2 separate regions of the Homo sapiens genome follow, and region 2 is linked to region 1. The links are contacts of gene promoters, found by promoter capture Hi-C in human tissues and cell types (Jung and others, 2019). All regions are on one chromosome and are shown on one strand. The core of a region is centred on a gene start or on the middle of the fragment in contact, and the rest is flanking DNA. Distances in the headings are between cores, read along the strand shown.

The links. Contacts are between HindIII fragments. The study calls those that stand out against the background at their distance.
Region 2: a contact is called between a fragment that was not itself captured here and the fragment with the promoter of MTMR7 in region 1, in 2 of the 25 tissues and cell types used here (dorsolateral prefrontal cortex and hippocampus).

The regions. Positions count from the first base shown.
Region 1 is chr8:17,409,731-17,415,268 of GRCh38, reverse strand. It overlaps MTMR7 (myotubularin related protein 7), which reads left to right and starts at 1,918. Exons shown (of 14, transcript NM_004686.5): 1 at 1,918-2,000. The coding sequence starts at 1,977. The HindIII fragment of the contact is 4,025 bases long and covers 1-2,847 here.
Region 2 is chr8:17,692,433-17,698,564 of GRCh38, reverse strand. The region is part of intron 6 of MTUS1 (microtubule associated scaffold protein 1); the gene reads left to right. Among named protein-coding and RNA genes, the nearest start is that of MIR548V, 14 kb to the right of the region's middle. The HindIII fragment of the contact is 6,124 bases long and covers 866-6,132 here.

The sequences.
Region 1 (5,538 bases), core at 669-3,168:
ACTGCAATCCACTGAGTGCTTTTCCTCCACATCTTTGTTATAGGGCAAGGCCAACAGAGACATTGATACATTGCATCATTGAGTTCATAAAAATCCTGAAGAGAGGCCGCTTTTACTTTTTGCCAGGCAGAACCCCAAATGCAGCTCTGACCCTATCATACTGAGTGACTCCAGATGAGGCTGAGTTTATTCAGAGATGTGTTCCCTCCTCCACTTATAATATGGTCCATTTGGGTTTAATTACGCTGAATAGGATCGTATTGAGTTTGTAATAATTAGCAATACCATCCCTAAGGAAACAGGGTTTGGTCTCACTGCCAAATCAGAAGTTTGCCTTGCCTCAAGAGAAATATAAGTATTCTGGAAAAAGTCTTGCAAGTGTTTTTGATAAGAATTCAAATCTCCTCAGGCCATTGAATATCACAGGATTTTGGGAAAATGCCCAGTTAAAATCAAGGTTGTATTTTAAAATTCTGTTAGCAAAAGTATTTGCAACTGAATTATCTATGTGATAAAAGTTGCATAAGAAGAATTCTCTAGAAGACGTTTGGTAACTTGCAATCAAGTAGTTTAGGTCTTGCTTATGGTTAGGTGTCCCTAGAGATCTTTAAAGGCATTACCAACTCCCTCTTTAAAAAAATCACAAACACAAAGGTAGAGACAGTGCATTATTTTGACTCTCAAATTCCCTTTCCACTTCAACATAGTATAGGCTAGGCTCAATTCAGCGTTAAAGTTCAGTGGCTTTATGTGACAACAACAACGAAAGTGTTCTTTTCACTTCCAAAAGAATCAGCTGTGGCTTTCCAGAGTAGTTCTTCTAATAATGTAAACTAATGGTAAACTTGTTCTAATTGCCTCCCAAAGCAGTAGGAGGATGAAATGGTAGAAGACCTGTGAAAGAGGGATCTGGAATTTTAAAAATAAATTCAACACCGTATTAATTATTTGCTGGAAGGCTGCAATGTGTCCAGGTATTAGATAAAAAAACGGTAAGCAGAGTCTCTACGGAAAAAAAAAAAAAATCACAATCCAGCCTGAAAGATGAGTAAGAGCGAGGAAAAAATTGAACAGAACTATGTAGAATTCTATAAAATTTCACTTATGGTGGAGCATTGTACTCTTAGGGCTGCAAGAAAAAAAAAATGGAGGGCGTTCTTCCTCTCTTTGGCTTTTCCCAAGAGGCCTAACGCTAACAATGGCACCAACTACTGTTAATACCATCAATAGGGAAATGGTACCGCATAATGGATGCTTTGTATCTCTATCTCTCAGTTCAGTTGGAGCTAAATAAAGAGGGCAAATGAGCACCCAACACTGTGCCAGGGGAAAAGTGTCGCCTGCAACAGTGAAGTCGCAGGTGGATGTGAGATGCCTGACTTAGGAGCGCGCTTACCAAGGCGCTAACACTGCTGCTATTATTTCCACCCGCACCCCGAGCGCTATGCCGGCCGCGCCTGGGATGAAACACACACATTGAGCCTACAAGACCGTCCTGGGTCTAGAGTGTCTGTGGCAGCCTTCTTTTCTGCCCCACCCTGAAATCCTAGCTATCCCAGGACGCCCTAGAAGGAAGCCCAGGGACGGTGTGGAGCAGCCTGTACTCCCCATCTCTCTTCCAGGAGGCCACACCCAAAACAAGGCCCTCTTTGTGTCTCGGAGAACAGTGGCCGTATAGTGCTCCGCCGGCTGCCCCTGTTAAGAGAGAGCGAGCAGCCCTCGCCCCGGCAACCCCAGGCAGAGGCGCGTCGCGGCGGCGGCGCAGGTGGGCGCAGGCGCGGAGGTGGGCTCTCTAGGGCCGCGCGGGAGCCCCGGGTCCGCACGCCGCGCGCGGAACACCTGGGGGCGGAGCCAAGACCGCGTCCCGCCCACTCCCGGGCGCGAAGCCCCCTCCCCGCGCCCCTCCCATCGCGCCGCAGAGGCGCGCAGGTGCGTGAGGCCGCGCCCGCCCGGGACCCTGCAGACGTGGGCCAGCCATGGAGCACATCCGTACGCCCAAGGTTGGTGACACCAGCGCGGGCGGAGGAGGGACGGGAGGAGATGGGGGAGGAGGAGGAGGGATGCTGAGCGCGCGGGAGGCCGACTGCTTTGAGGGGCACCGGCGGAGCCTGGACCGCGGGCGAGGGAGGAGCAGGCATTGCCTGAGCATCCCGGGGTGCCTGCGAGCCCGGTCGTTCTCTTGCTGCCTCCCAGGCCTAGCCTTAGCTGCTGCTGGGTCTGACCTCTTGGTTTTGGGGGAGCGCAGTGGACACAAGGGTGAACGGGAGGGAACCTCAGTTGTCTGCTAGTAACTGGGTGTAGATCAACCCTTCTTTCTCCTGGCACGAGGCTTTCTCTTTTAGCTGTTGGCCGCTCAGAGTAGTTGAAAGGGAAATAAGCCTTTCGGTGACAGGTGCAAGGAAAACGAGCTAAATGCAGAGGGACTCCTGCGCTTGGAAGCTTGTTAAATCTAGGGTGTCAGGCCCACCCGGCTCGGCCTTCCCAGTCAGCATCCTCATCCTGAGCGTAGCAGCTGCAAGGGGCCTTACACAGAACGGATAATCAATATTCATTGTAGGTTGAATGATGGTGTGTTCTTGCCTTTTCCAGTCCGTTTTGTTCGTTAGAGAAAAGGATGCAGCTTACGGATTCGTCACGCACTGTTGTGTTTTAACAACACCAGCTTTTGCTAATTAACAAAAGCAAATGGTCCCTGATCACTCCAGTAAATTAACATTGGAAACGTTGATCGCTGTACCAAATCTTCCTCCTCAGTTGTACTGATAATCTAATTTAGAATGAAAATGATGATCGACGTTACTGCATGATAAAAACCCTAAACGAGTGAAAGAATATGCTTAAAAACCCTATTGGCTGTCTGTTGTTACTACCACCACAGCTCCTTGCGTTTTTGCAGGATGAACTTCCATTCAAAATGTAGGCCCCTGACAGGTCAAAGCTAGGTCAGAGTGGCCATAGCTCAGGTGGTTCCAGGGATCCCACACATTTAAGAGGGGTGGGGGCAATTGCTTTATGGCCAGCAAGAATTGATTCCTAAATTTTGGAATAGTTCCTGAGTACCTTTTTGTAAAAGCAGATTAAAATGATCTCATGTCATTGGAAGAAGAAATCTTTTAGTTTGCTGGAGAATGTCAGTTCCGACAGTAAATTTAAATTGTATTGATTTTGCACTAGGGAATTAAGTTGTCGCTTCACAATCATGAAATTGTAAACTTAGAAGACAATGCTACAAACCACAGAATAGGTGGCTCAAAGCTTTCAGAGTTTAAGTGGTACTAAATAATTTATTCCAGAAGGGTGAATTTAACTCATGGACTCTGCCCTTGCCAAGGGCATTCTTCCTCCTTCCATGATGAAGGGAGCCGTTTGTAAAAGTGATAGCTGTTGTGGATATTGATAGCAAGAATGATACAGTGACATGGCAGTGGATGCCACTTTGTTAGAGAATATGAATTTGGGGGAGTCAAGGCCTTTTCTGTTCTATATACAAAGCCACCTGGTACAAAGTCACGTGTGAACCTGAGTTGCAAGCAGTGTTCTTACTCTTAAAATTGGTGTTTATGGATACCCTCTAAGCAGTGCAGTACTTGAAGTCAGAAATCCTTATTTATCTGGAAATGGAAACAAATTGGGGGAAAATGGAAAATTGTCTGAAGTGTTACTGAATTGGGTGAGTCATTAACATTTGGGATAAAGCTGGTGAAAAAAATAAGAAATTACAGAGGTTGGATGGATCGGATTCATTTATTCATTTATTTTATTCTACAAGCATTTAGAACCTTTCATGTGCCAGGCTCTGTGTTAAGTGCTGGAAGCGTCCAGGAACTCACAATCTCTAAGGGGAGGCAGTTGTAAATATGTCAGTGTATGATAGAGACATGTGCAAGGTGCAGTGGGTAGAGAGGGAGACTGAAGAGAGGATCAGCTCTGCCCTCAAGGTCAAGGGAAGCCTTCTTAGAAGAGCCGTCTTAACATGGAAGGACTTAAGGAGGACTAGGAGCATTTTCAACAGTGGTCATGTACTTGTATAAATATATATTGTAATAAATAATTACAACCCTAAAGAAACTGAAAACAATAACAATGGTCAAAGATAAATGATTCCTTGAGGTTAAATAACATCCTCCTTTTGTTTTACATTTTTAAGGGCAAAATTAATTTTCACAGTCTAAATGAAAAAGAGAACAACATTACTTACAGAGCTTGCAGAGTTAAATATATAATTGTTACTGGTCATATTCATCTTTATTATTTGCTTCCATTATACTTGGTGAAACTATAGGTAAATTTCCTTCGATTTCATGGTTTCATGTCTTGGGTTTGCAAGGAGTGTATACAAAGTTTGTTTTTCTGGCCCACTGTGGGTTTATAGCAATATTTACTGTGTGGGTAGTAGAGTTTTAAGAGGAAAAGAATTGTATGCATGTATAATGTACAGTTGCTTTTCTGTTACAATGGAAGTCATTCACTCGCTGTAGACTGTGTAATATCCATGACAGCCTCTGTGTTCTGCTTTAGTCTCTGGAGTGCAGTTTAAGGAGACAGATGCACGTGCATAATCTGGAATGCTTTGCACATATTTCTTTCTAGGGGTGCATGTATGTTTAACTGAAGCCTTTAACAGAGCATATGCTAAGCAGAGTGCTTCCCTTCCAGAATGGTTCCTCTAGAGGGGAAAAAAAAGTTCCAAGGACAGGCTGGTTTGCAGTTGGGTTAAAGGGGGGACACCAAGTATTACCTGTACTCATCCCAGTGAACTTCTAGGTTTCTACTTCACTGTCTGGGTTTCCTTACCACTCTGAAAACTTGCTGGAAGCTTAGGCATAATTTGGGTTCAAGTGCTGCTTAATTAAATGAAAAGACTTCAGGGCTCCTGGAAGTAGCTTGAAGTGTTTGTAGGATTTAGTTTGGTACTAGATTGAGGCAAATGTGTCCAGGATCCTGGTAAGTGATTTCTACTTTATATGCTTTGGTCTTTCTGGAAGGCATTTTTCCCACATGTGTAAATTTGAGTTATGAAATAGAATACGTGATAACCTCCAAAACAGACCTTGCAAATGTCTTCTCTTCCTTGGTACACCTACCCCCTAGTCTGACCCTGACTGGTCTCCTGATTTATTTTTTTTTGCTCTTTTCTAATCCCTTTCTCACAGAGGGGCCTGGATGATGCTTTTATGTCTCAAATTGATCATGCTACTTCCCTGCTAAGTTTCCTAGGTGGCTTCCCTTTGTACCCAGGATATAAAGTGAGAATCCTCAGAACTGCTCGTAAGGCCCTTTGTAGACTGAGCCCTTCCTACTTCTCCAGCCTCGTTTTGTGACAATCATCTTCTTATCCACAACCCTCTGATCACAACTTGTCTTCACAGAGTTCTCCAGTGGGACCAGTTCTTTTCTGCCTCGGGACTTTTGCACTGCTGTTCCATCTGGGGGACGTTAGTTCTCACTCTTCACCTGGCTAAATACCTCATCTTTCTAGTTTCAAATTGTGATTTCTCAGGCTGTTGTCCAACTCCCCCATCTAAATCAGATCTGCCT
Region 2 (6,132 bases), core at 2,678-5,177, 280 kb before region 1:
TTTTCTAGGAAATCTTGGAAACAGGCATAGGACATTTTTAAAACATTGTTTTGTTTATAACATTTTTAAAAATGTTAAGAGCTCAGGCTATTCGTGGTTTAATGGAATTAGCTTAAGTGGGCATATTGTTGTTGTTAATTCTTATAACCATATCTTTGTTTTTCAAGTTCTTTTGGTTTTGCTATCATGTTTTAACATACTTTTACAAGCCACTCTACTGAAATAAAAATTAGTAGATAACTGGCAAAAGATATTCATAACTGTGCCCTCCTCACACTCCTAGTCTTGAAAGACCACTATAAGAGACCACATGATGTTCTATAAATGCAATTACTCATGCAATAAATGTAGTCTTTAGAATATGCCTATCTGATGGACTATTCTTCTGGAACTCTGATATTACATCTGATAGAGAAACCGTATTAATCTTTTACTGTTGATTATTTGTGAGGTCCTCAGCATGTGGGAATTAAAGTTGAACTTTAACCTTTTGACAATCTGTCATTAATATATTAGAATAGAAATTTTCTTAAATATTGTAGTTGAGAACATTTATTGCCTGAAGTCTTTAAAAAAAAAACTTTTCCAAAATACCAGGTTTAAATGTAGTTTACATGTAAAATATCTAGAGAAAAAATGCTCATGTTATCATTGTGAATATAAGGAGTGAAAAATGTTAAAATCAGGACACAGTTTACTTTCAGGAAATCCTAATTTTTTTCTAATTATGAAAGAAACATTAGGCACTTGAAGTAGTTAATTTCCCCTAGCGATCTTTCAAGTGGTTACAGGATCTGTGACATTATTGGTTGTTCTGTAAAGCTCCTGAGACCACCCACTTTCTCCTCCCCTTTACCATCTCGGATGAAAACCATAACAACTCCACAAGCATGCACAGTGTGATGTGGTTCAGAGGCAGCTTCTAGACCTGCAGGAGGGAGATTGTATTCAGAGGAAGAGCATCATTTTGGCAACATCTGAAAGTGAAAACGGAAGCCAGAAACACTTGGCCAGCCCTGGGGGATTTTTTTCTTCTATGCCTCTCTGGTGGAATGACATTTGCTGTGTAGGCATCTTTCCTCTGACTGTATTTCTTGGCCTTGAAGAGTACTGAGTTTAAAAAGACAGTATGTGACAGTCCATGGAAATTGCCTCTTCTGTGAAATCTCGCCACCTGCTCCGAAGACATGTTGTTGTCTCCCAAATTCTCCTTATCCACCATTCACATACGACTGACGGCCAAAGGATTGCTTCGAAACCTTCGACTTCCTTCAGGGTTTAGGAGAAGCACTGTTGTTTTCCACACAGGTCTGTCTCGCATAGATCTCTGTTTAGTGTTGCACGGGGGATGTCTTCATTAATTTGCAGATGTTTATCAGAGGTTTTTCCAAGGAGACAGATAATTGGAGGAAAAAAGCTCTCTCTAATGAGAGATGAGGCTTAATTTAAAAATTGTTTTCTGTTGCTTCAGCACAAGTGCATAGTACTTTTACTTTTGGCAGCAGATTGTGTTGTTTGTGTTGATGGAAGGCAGAATTGTTGCCTTGGTGTTCCCTAGCTCTTTTCTCCATCACCAGCCAAATGTGTGAAAATCAGCACCTGTTAAATTATATTTTAGTTCCAGTGTTTGGGAAATAGGACACAGGTAAATTTAGAAGAATATTTCCTGTTCGCCTGTGTAGATGAGAAGGTTCCCATCGTTTTTCATTGGATAGTTTCTCAGTCAGATTTGACAGTTAATTTTAATATGCTAAAAGATTTCTGTATACTAAACACTTCTGACAGAAAACATCCTAATGGTTATGGGGAAGTAGTAAGTGAATCACAAATCTAGTTTTCCAATCTTCATAATAAAAGTGTGTGCAGTCTCAAAATACTTCCCCTGAGGTTTATGTTTGTATCTGCTTATTATTTTCGGTGCCTAAGATGAAAATAAATTTAGTATATATTTTAGGCACGTGGTGACCTGTCTGCTCACTTTTAGGGCATTGGGTTGGCCTATGTTGCTACTTTTGTCCTAGATGATTTTACAGCTACAGTAAATTAAATCAGTTTTATTCTGTAAAATATGTTAGCTGGGGTGTTTTTATATTTGTTTTGGGCTGAATAGCGTTAGGTGTCACAGGAATGTTTGATGAGGATGTAAATAGATTTTTGTTTCTGCTTCATGTGCACGTGACCCCTCGTGTTTCTTATTTTCCACGTGGCTCATCTCTGTCCCTGGTGATTTGTTTTCAGCTGACTATTTTTAGTTTTCCCAGAGGCATCTCCCTTCTCTGTGGGAGAATTCTCATTTTTTCCAGCACCTCTCTCTCGTGTTTCATAACTCCCCTTGACCTGTCATTTGATTTTGCCAGCCTCTCCCTTTCAGTCTGAGCTGACGGTAAATGGGGGGAGGCAGCGAGGAGGAGGTCAGCAGTGGCCCTCCTCTCCCAGCTCAGGGCCGCTGCAGCCCTTCCAACTGAACAAATTAATAGGGGGGAAAAATAACAAAGGGTGCCCTATATTTGCAATAATTTGTCTGATCTAAAGTAGCTCCAAATAGCTTTTAATTTTAAAGAGTTCTTTTAAAAATACTGTAATCCACGCTCCAAGTTAAAAATCAAACAGTATGGAAGGTTGTGCAGTCCTAGGCAAGCCTCTCTCTTACCCAGAGTCCCTGTCTGCTCTCCGTGGAGACAGCCGCTCTCAGCTGCTTGCATAGTGTTCTTGCACGTTTCCAGTCACATGTAAATCTATGCAGGTCTTTTTTATTCTTTTTTGTTATACAGAAATAAAAGCGTACTATATATTCTATACCTTTTTAAAGTTAATGTGTTTTAGATTTGCATGTGATCACATGTTTATCTACCTCATTAAAAAAAATAGTTCTGTAACATTCCATTATTGGGTAAGTCATGATTTACTTAACCAGTGCTCTAGTAGTAGACATTCTAAGTTGTCTGTAGTGTTGTTGTGAAGCAGATAGCTTTCCAAGACAGCGTAAGCAAACGACACAAGGCTTCTATTACCAGGGTTTAGTTGATAGTGATGTATTGGACACATTTTATTTTCTAAACTTACGTAAAACTATTTTCTGTTTATTTGCAGTCATAATTTTTTGAGCTAGAGTTCACATAGAGGTGATCTAATCTGTCTTATACCAGGAAGTCTGAGGCCCAGAGAAGTGAATTCGCTTGCCCAGAGGCACACAGTAAGTGCCAGAGATAGGACTAAAACCTGGGACTTCTATTTAGAATTTTTGGCGTACATATTTTCCAGCTGCAAATTTTGCTGTAATTTTGTTAGATCCAAGGAATAGCAGGGATGGAGGAAGCGTTTTGTGTGTTGGAGGCTTTTTAAAATCATGTAAGGAATATAATTCTGCTTACTCCCAATATCAGTCTTTGATGGGCTTATCCATGTTATGTCATTTTAACGTCCGAGAAATCGTCCGTCAAGTGGGTAATTCATGCCGTCATGGTGACTCTTATCTGAATGGACTGTCAGCAGTAACTTGGGTTGGTATCCTTAGTGAAGGAAGTGGTGTTGGTTGCCTCAGTGCAGTGGTGTTGACCTGGATCCCAAGAGGCCTGGATTGTAGCCTTGATTCTGCTGGTGACCAAGTGAATAGCCCTGTGCACCTAACCTCACACGGCTACAAAATAAGGGAACCACAAGAGATGACTTCCAGGTTCCCCTTAGCCTCCAAATCTGTGAATTTCTGGCTGAAGATTTGAAAACCCTCAGTGTATTACTCTGCTTGGAAATTCATCTTATCTAAATGATTTGTCTCCTTATTTTTTTACCTCCTAAATTCAGTTAATACTCATGAATTATCTGTTTCTTTTCATGACACCATGTGTCTGGTCATCAAACCCCACCTTTGGTTTTTGTTGTTTTTTTGTTGCTTTGTTTTAGATGGAGTCTCGCTCTGTTGCCTAGGCTGGAGTGCACTGGTGCTGTCTGGGCCCACTGCAACCTCCGCCTCCCAGGTTCAAGCAATTCTGCTGCCTCAGCCTCCCGAGTAGCTGGGATTACAGGTGCCCACCACCATACCCGGCTAATTTCTTTGTATTTTTAATAGAGATGGGGTTTCACCATGTTGGCCATACTGGTCTGGAACTCCTGACCTCAGGCAATTCGCCTGCCTCAGCCTCCCAAAGTGCTGGGATTACAGACATGAGCTACCACGTCTGGCCAAACCTCACCTTTGAATCATTACTTGTCCTGATTTATCCACAATCAATTGGTTGAAAACTCTAAGACTCCATCATTTGAAATCTTGATTTGTTTTTACCACCTGCCATTACCCTAGTCCAGGCATTATCATGTTGAAGCATTGAAACTGCTCTTCCTGGCTGGTGCCACTGGCTCACACCTATAATCCCAGTACTTTGGGAGGCCAAGGGAAGAGAATCACTTAAGGCTAGGAGTTTGAGACCAGCCCTGGAGAGTTAATGAGACCCTGTCTCTATTTAAAAAACCACACACAAAAAATTAATAGGTAAAAAGTGGCCAAATATGAACACTTTTGTATAATAAGTCAAAAGTAGCCAAATAGGAACAGTTTTGTATAATCCAGCCTAAGATGTTGACTGGGCTTTCTGAAGAGCTTAGTATTTGGTCTGTGCCTCCAGCCTTTCCCTTGCTTCTAGACTGTCTTTCACATTACAGATTAATTCATTCGTTTCATAAAGAAGTACCCGTTAGATGAGTACTGTGTACCAGGCATAATGGTAGGTGCTGAAAGTATGACTGGGACTAAGTCCCACATGGACCCTGCCTTCACACAGCCCACTGTTTAACAGAAGGAGACAGAGCACCAGTTAATAATGCAGGGTGTGGACTTGTGCCCAAGCAGCTCTCAGCAGGTGGAGGTACCTTTAATCCAGGTCCTCCAGTAGAAGTGCCTTTTAAGTTGGGTCCTCAGGAAATGGAGAATTTACTAAGAAACAAAGTGTTTCCGACAGAGAAAACAGCATGTAAAAACCTTGAGGGGCTTGAGGAAGGGCTCCTTCAAGGAAACAAAGGAGTTGTAGTATTTCTGAGCATAGAATGTGGTGGGACGGGGGCTGGTCATTGTAGAGATCCGGCCAGAATAAGCTTTCTCATTGATCCCACGCAGAGGGCACTGGGCACTCTGATATATTATTACTGGGTGGTATCCATCACTGGCAAAGCGTGTTGTTGGATCGAGGTTATCTTTCCTCTTTAAACAGGGGAGAGGAGGAAAAGAGTGAATTTGTCAGGAACTGTGCGTGATGTTGCAGGACATTAGGCACAGATGAAAATCTAAGAAGTCCAGTGATGACGTCACTGACATGGAGAAGGGTCAGCAATAGTCTTTTTACCAAAGTATTAAACTCGGTCTATTTCGGAATTCTACCTCAACATATTAGTTCTATTTTTATAATGAGTTAGTGGAGGGAAAAGACTTTGCTAAGAAATATTCCCTGCCACTTAGCATTCAGTTTTTCTATGAAGCTGGAAATTCTTGTATTAATTGCTATGAAGAGTGCCATTTGAACCTCACAGGTTAATTTCCTTCTTGACTCCAGTGAAGGCAATTCAGTACGCTAAAGACAGAATTCTTTCTGCTGAGCTAGTGACATTAAAAGTGATTACTGCAGCGCAAGGGAGGAACATGTGTACGTACGTATCGAGGGATGGCAGAGGTAGTATCAGAACAAAATATTTCCATTTACTTTTGCCATTTTATTTTATTTTGAACTTTTAGGTTCAGGGGTACATGTAAAGGTTTGTTATATAGGTAAACTCATGTCACAGAGTTTATTGTACAGATTCTTGTACAATAAATAGTTTATTGTACAGATGATTTCATCACCCAAGTATTAAGCCCAGCACCCAAGTTATTGTTTTCTGCTCCTCTCCCTCCTCCTACCCTGCACCCTCAATTAGACCCCCATCTGTTGTTTCCCTTCTTTGTGTTCGTGAAGAGAACCGTTTTAAAGAAGTGTTCAGTAACAGGCAGGCAGAATGTGAATGCGTTTGTTTAATTAGGATGAAATTCATCAAATTATGTTCTCGCATTTGGTATTCACTTTTGACTCTTTTTAGATGGAATTAACAGCTTCACTAAGAAGCAACTTGTCTCACCTGAAGAAAAGCAGCTTTGAGGTTGTTCGGTGG